Regions from separate parts of the Homo sapiens genome. Here region 1 is linked to region 2. The links are contacts of gene promoters, found by promoter capture Hi-C in human tissues and cell types (Jung and others, 2019). All regions are on one chromosome and are shown on one strand. Each heading gives the region's core, a stretch centred on a gene start or on the middle of the fragment in contact. The rest is flanking DNA. Distances are from core to core; before and after follow the strand shown.

What was found. Contacts are between HindIII fragments. The study calls those that stand out against the background at their distance.
Region 1: a contact is called between a fragment that was not itself captured here and the fragment with the promoter of AMT in region 2, in 3 of the 25 tissues and cell types used here (dorsolateral prefrontal cortex, liver and mesenchymal stem cells).

What each region holds. Positions count from the first base shown.
Region 1 is chr3:49,076,805-49,080,160 of GRCh38, reverse strand. QRICH1 (glutamine rich 1) reads left to right here. Exons shown (of 10, transcript NM_198880.3): 2 at 3,123-3,356. The coding sequence starts at 3,144. Among named protein-coding and RNA genes, the nearest start is that of QRICH1, 16 kb to the left of the region's middle. The HindIII fragment of the contact is 7,025 bases long and covers 1-3,356 here.
Region 2 is chr3:49,420,843-49,423,947 of GRCh38, reverse strand. It overlaps AMT (aminomethyltransferase), which reads left to right and starts at 1,475. Exons shown (of 9, transcript NM_000481.4): 1 at 1,475-1,587; 2 at 1,677-1,844; 3 at 2,376-2,456. The coding sequence starts at 1,498. It overlaps NICN1 (nicolin 1, tubulin polyglutamylase complex subunit), which reads left to right. Exons shown (of 6, transcript NM_032316.3): 6 at 1-1,615. RefSeq lists enhancers at 1,094-1,847, 1,848-2,600. The HindIII fragment of the contact is 4,289 bases long and covers 678-3,105 here.

The sequences.
Region 1 (3,356 bases), core at 784-3,283, 340 kb after region 2:
TAATGGCTGCTCATATAATCTCTCCTTTGTCCCCTTTTGAGCAGAAGGGTATATGTGATTAGATATTAGAGTTTCATAACTTTCTAATGTTACCGGATCTCTATTATGAAAGATGCCTTTTTTTTTTTTTTTGAGATAGAGTCTCAGTCTGGCGCCCAGGCTGGAGCGCAGTGGCACGATCTCGGCTCACCGCAACCTCTGCCTCCTGGGCTCAAGCAATTCTCCTGCCTCGGCCTCCCGAGTAGCTGGTATTACAGGTGCCTGACACCATGCCTGGCTAATTTTTGTATTTTTAGTAGAGACAGGGTTTCGCCTTGTTGGCCAGGCTGGTCTCAAACTCCTGACCTCAGGTGATCTGCCTGCCTTTGCCTCCCAAAGTGCTGGGATTACAGGCGTGAGCCACCGCACTGGGCTGAAAGATGCCTTCTTAAGGAAATCGCTACTGTGCTATTAACAAAGGGGAACTTTGATACATTCTGTGCAAGTGTGGCAAATGAGTGCTCTCGGATCACCTAAGCCAAGTAGCCTTCTCTGAATCTGTAGTTAGGCAAAGTGTGCTTGGCCTGATGCTCTCTTTATGTGTGATGTGGACATCGTTGACCACTTAATTATTATTATTTTATTATAGTATTTTATTATAATTGTTATAATATTTAATTATTATAATTATAATATTTTTATATTTATGTAAAAATTATATTTATATTACATAATTGTAATTATTATAATATTTTATTATAATTATTTATTTTATTTTATTTATTTATTTCTTTTAACAGATGAAAGTCTCTCTAGGTTTCCCAGCCCAAAGACCTGGTCTCAAGCAATCCTCCACCTCAGCCTCCTGAGTAGCTGAGACTACATGTGTGCACCACTGTGACCAGCTGATAACTTAATTTTTTTGTTTGTTTGTTTGTTTGTTTTTTTTAGACAGAGTTACGCTCTGTCGCCTAGGCTGGAGTGCATTCGAGTGATCTCGGGTCACTGCAGCCTCGATCTCTGGGCTCAAGCAATCCTTCTACCTTAGCCTCCGTAGTAGCTGGGACTACAGGTGCATACCACCATACCCAGTTAATTTTTATATATTTTTTGTAGAGATGGGGTTTCTCCATGTTGCCTGGGCTGAGGTGGAAGGATTGCTTGAGTCCGTGGAGCTATGGATATTACAGAAACCAATTGGGTGGCTCACGTCTATAATCCCAGCACTTTGGGAGGCCGAGGCGGGAGGGTCACCTGAAGTCAGGAGTTTGAGACCAGCCAGGCCAACATGGCAAAACCCAGTCTCTACTAAAAATACATAAATTAGCTGGGCATGGTGGTGGGCACCTGTAGTCCCAGCTACTCGGGAGGCTGAGGCAGGAAAATCACTTGAACCTGGGAGGCTGCAGTGAGCCGAGATCGTGCCACTGCACTCCAGCCTGGGCGACAGAGGGAGACTCCAACTCAAAAAAAAAAAAAAAAAAAAAGGACAGGTGTGGTGGCTCACGCCTGTAATCTCAGCACTTTGGGAGGCTGAGGCAGGCGGATCACGAGGTCAGGAGATCGAGACCATCCTGGCTAAGATGGGGAAACCTCGTCTCTACTAAAAATACAAAAAAATTAGCTGGGCGTGGTGGTGGGCGCCTGTAGTCCCAGCTACTCGGGAGGCTGAGGCAGGAGAATGGTGTGAACCCAGGAGGTGGAGCTTGCAGTGAGCCAAGATCAAGCCACTGCACTCCAGCCTGGGCAACAGAATGAGACTCCATCTCAAAAAAAAAAAAAAAAAAAAAAAAAAGGAACCATAATTCTTCGTTTTCCACATTGAATTTCAAATGCAGCAGGTATATATGAAGCAACTACCATGGGTGAGCTATTCGGAGAGAACCAGGACATAGTCTTGTCTACCAAGAACTTAGAGCCTAGGTAGAAGAAAGGAGACGTTTACCCACATATTTTATATCTGTAACATAAGGTAGAGCATCTGGTCAGTCTAGTGTATCTATCCTGATTGCTCAAGGGAACAAATCACCTTTCCAGACATTCAGAATTGTCTGATAATCCTTTTTGGCAAAAACGTTCGCTTGTTTTCTGTTACTCTTTCATCCTGCTGCTACTTTTGTTCTGGAGGTCGGGCTGTTGAAGGGAGGATGGTACAAAGGTAGCAGCGACAGGGGTCAGCAGTCCACAGATTGCACACTTTTCCCTCAGATGATGAGAGTTAACTGTACGTCTGCAGGTTAATTCTTAAGGTAATTAAATACCTGATGAAAACTTGTAGAATTTATTTCTGAATTTTAGTAGTGACCTGGATATTTAAAGCACTATTTACCTTTTTTCCAGAATTATTTTAATAGTATTAGTTACATTTCTGTAGTGCTATCTATGTGCTAGATGATTTTCTAAATGCCTTATTTAATCCTTATGTCAACTGTGAGGTAAGTACTATTGTGTCCCCATTTACTCACAAGAAAACTAAGGTTAATTGACTTTTCTAGAGTTACATAATAAAGGAGACATAAAGTTGGGATTTGAACCCAGGCAGCCTGGCTCCAGAGTCCATGCTTTTAACCAGTAGTAAGCTGTGTTGCAAAAGAATGTGAGCACCACATGGCAAAATAGGATTTTTGGTTTTTCTGATGGGAGATGAAGAACATATCCTCTGCCTCTTGTGTCTTGCCACAACTAGGTGGCATACCTATCTCTGCTGTAGGAAATACTTGGAAATAAAACATATCCATAGGAATCCCTGCCCCTAGCTTCCTCCTTGCTTGGTGTCCTCTCTGTGATGGTCACAGAGCAGTTTTGCATGTGACATTTACTGTCCAGTGCTTGGCTCTGCAGAGAAGATGGGATTGACCTAGTGCTGGGTAGGAAGTGTGTTTTCAGCCTGTTTCATCCAGTATTGTGAAGCATGTGTTTGTTTTTTTGTTTTCAGTGTGATAGTTTTATTTAAGAAATGTTAATAGAAATAATTTTCAAACATCCATTAATTGAAAAAATAAGGTGGTATAATAAAACTTTATTTTTTGATTCTATATGTATACAGCTGCCCTGAATATATTCCACTCTTGTGCAAGGGTAATTGCTTCTGGGCATTTCCTGCTAAAAACAGTAACATAATTTTGACTTCTGTTTATTTCTAGGAACCCTAAGGACTCTGCAATATGAATAATTCCCTAGAGAACACCATCTCCTTTGAAGAGTACATCCGAGTAAAGGCACGGTCTGTCCCGCAACACAGGATGAAGGAATTTCTGGACTCACTGGCCTCTAAGGGGCCAGAAGCCCTTCAGGAGTTCCAGCAGACAGCCACCACTACCATGGTGTACCAACAGGGTGGGAACTGCATATACACAGACAGCACTGAAGTGGCTGGG
Region 2 (3,105 bases), core at 226-2,725:
AACCCGGGAAGTGGAGGTTGCGGACCTGAGATCATGCCATTGCACTCCAGCCTGGGCAAGAAGAGCGAAACTCCATCTTAAACAAACAAACAAAAAAAAAAGAACTGGGACCCTTCTGCCATCTGACATAGCCCAAAGCACATCTCTATCCTTTCTCCCAGTTGCCCCTCTCCTTTTTTGTTGTTTTTTTTGAGGTTGAGTTTTGCTCTTGTTGCCCAGGCTGGAGTGCAATAGTGCAATCTTGGCTAACTGCAACCTCCGCCTCCCAGGTTCAAGCAATTCTCCTGCCTCAGTCTCCCGAGTAGCTGGGATTACAGTCATGCATCACCATGCCTGGCTAATTTTGTATTTGTAGTAGAGATGGGGTTTCTCCATGTTGGTCAGGCTGGTCTCAAACACCTGACCTCAGGTGATCTGCCTGCCTTGGCCTTCCAAAGTGCTGGGATTACAGGCATGAGCCACCGCGCCCGCCCTGCCCCTTTCCAAGAGATATGCTCAGCATAATGAGAGATCAACCGTGGTGGGGAGTGGGTCCAAGTAAGGGTTCTCATTGTTGCCTTTTAAGAGGCCTAAGTCCTGCATTAACTCAGTCCAACCATTAAGTGATGCAGGCTGCTCTTCCCTCATGTGAGAAAAACCTGTTTCCCTCTGGTTCTTCCTGGCTTTGCACCTGGTGGCTATTACAAAGCAGTACTGCAGTATGTCTTGGACCTGGAAAGTTGGACATGTGTGTGGCTCAACAGTTTTCTCGGGGGAGTTCAGTGACCTTTTGGTGGCCACCCTCTGTTCTCACCTGTGAGTTCTTGCAGGTGGCGACTTCATCTGCAAGGTCACTTACATAGCCCCACTCAGCTGCTTCGGAAAGCGTGACGAAGCAGTAGTCCTCAGTGTGTGTGTAAGTGAAGAGGACCTTGTGGTAGCAGGGACCATGCTTCATTCGTGGCTGTGTCCCCATCTGAGGGCCTGGTATGCAGTAAGATCAATAAATACTTGTGGAATGCATGACTGCTGGCTGCCTGTGTCTGCCTGGTGGGAGAGCTGTGGAACTAGGGGTCCACATGAGGACAGACTACTGTGGTGCTGCCTACCTGCCAGGCTGGCCCACCTTCCCCACCCCCACTTGACCTTACTCTCTTGAGGTCCTAAAGGTATGATTCAGACCTTTCAGCCCTTTCCAGAACTTTGACCCTCTGGAGACAGGGCGGTTCTGCAGGGGGCGGTCTAGCCCCTAGCTTTGTTCTGGGCAGCCCAATCAGCTCTGGATTGCCCGAGCTGCCCTGAAGAGTCAGCCGAAAGAGCTGGAGGCTTCTTCCCTGTGGTTGCGGGTTCCTGCATTCTCTGCTCTAAATCCCAGCCTGCCCTTGGGGCTGCCCACGCCCCCTTCAGATCCTTTGCTCCGGAGAGAGACCTGTCCGAGCAGAGGCCTGGACTACATCTCCCGGCGTGCCTGGCAGTGTGGTGGCCTCTGTGCGCCGTCTGCACTCGTTGCAGGCGACGATGCAGAGGGCTGTAAGTGTGGTGGCCCGTCTGGGCTTTCGCCTGCAGGCATTCCCCCCGGCCTTGTGTCGTCCACTTAGTTGCGCACAGGTGGGATAGAGGGTGCTGATCTTGGAGGGTGGGGGAGGGAAGCGGCTGGGGGCTAGGGCCCTGGTGGCACTAAGCCCAGCCGCCCACAGGAGGTGCTCCGCAGGACACCGCTCTATGACTTCCACCTGGCCCACGGCGGGAAAATGGTGGCGTTTGCGGGTTGGAGTCTGCCAGTGCAGTACCGGGACAGTCACACTGACTCGCACCTGCACACACGCCAGCACTGCTCGCTCTTTGACGTGTCTCATATGCTGCAGGTGAGCCAGGGGAGCACACTGGCCATCTGATCAGGCCTTCCTCCCTGTTTACAGTGGTCCACTCCTTGGCTTTGTTTGCTGTGAACTGGATTCCAAGGACAGCCTTCTCAGAAGAGCTAGAGGTCATGGGGGTGTCATGGATAGGTCAATGGCCCCAAGGAAATGAGCTCAGAGGGTCTCATCATCTCATCCTTCTAGCTTGCCCCCATTAAATGGTGTGCCTTAATGTCCCGGGTTTTCCAGGGCTGACACCCACTCTCATGTATTGGGCTGGATGTTGGTTTGAAAAGGGGTTATTTCAGGAAGGTGCTAGGTCCTGTCCAGTTCCCTGGCAGTCCCCCCACACAGAGTGACTGGGGGAGGTCAGGAAATCAGAAGGTGGTCCTTTGCCACGTGTAGAACCAAAAGACTGGTTAGTCACTTTGGGTGGGCTGGACTGCACTGTGGATGGCAGGGAGGATGCATCCTTGCTTAGTAGCCTTTTGGATTGTAGCTGTTGCAATGGCCTGAGGCTTTCAATCTCTTCCCCAGACCAAGATACTTGGTAGTGACCGGGTGAAGCTGATGGAGAGTCTAGTGGTTGGAGACATTGCAGAGCTAAGACCAAACCAGGTGGGCCCTTTTATTTCTGCTCTATGAGTTTTCTTAGTCATGAGCCAGCAAATGGGCTGAGTCCCTACCTCAGGCTTAGGGGCACAGAGATGAGTCAAACACAGCTTCTCAGGGCTTGCAGTCTTGGACAGAATCCCTGAGTCATTTCCAGAGACACAGACATTTGTAGGGAGGGGAATATCCCAGTCTTACTACATCAGGCTAGGAGGCCAGAAACCAAGGTTAATATGCTGCTCTCTGGCCATCCCTTCTGCTTAACCCCTCTCTATTCAACATGTGGTCCCTGGCCAGGCGACGTGACTCAAACACCTGTAATCCTGGCACTTGGGGAGGCCAAGGCGGGTGGATCACCTGAGGTCAGGAGTTCGAGACCAGCCTGGCCAACATGGCAAAACCTCGTTTCTACTAAAAACACAAAAATTAGCCGGGCGTGGTGGCGCGTGCTTGTAGTCCCAGCTACTCGGGAGGCTGAGGTTGCAGCAAGCTGAGGTTGCACCACTGCACTCTGGCCTGGGCAACAGAGTGAGACTCAGTCTAAAAAGAAAAATAACAACAACAAAGTGTGGTCTCTAAACCAGCATCTTTGGAGCTTGTTAGGAATATAGTCTCAGGCACTGCTGCAGACCTGCTGAATCAGAACCTTCATTTT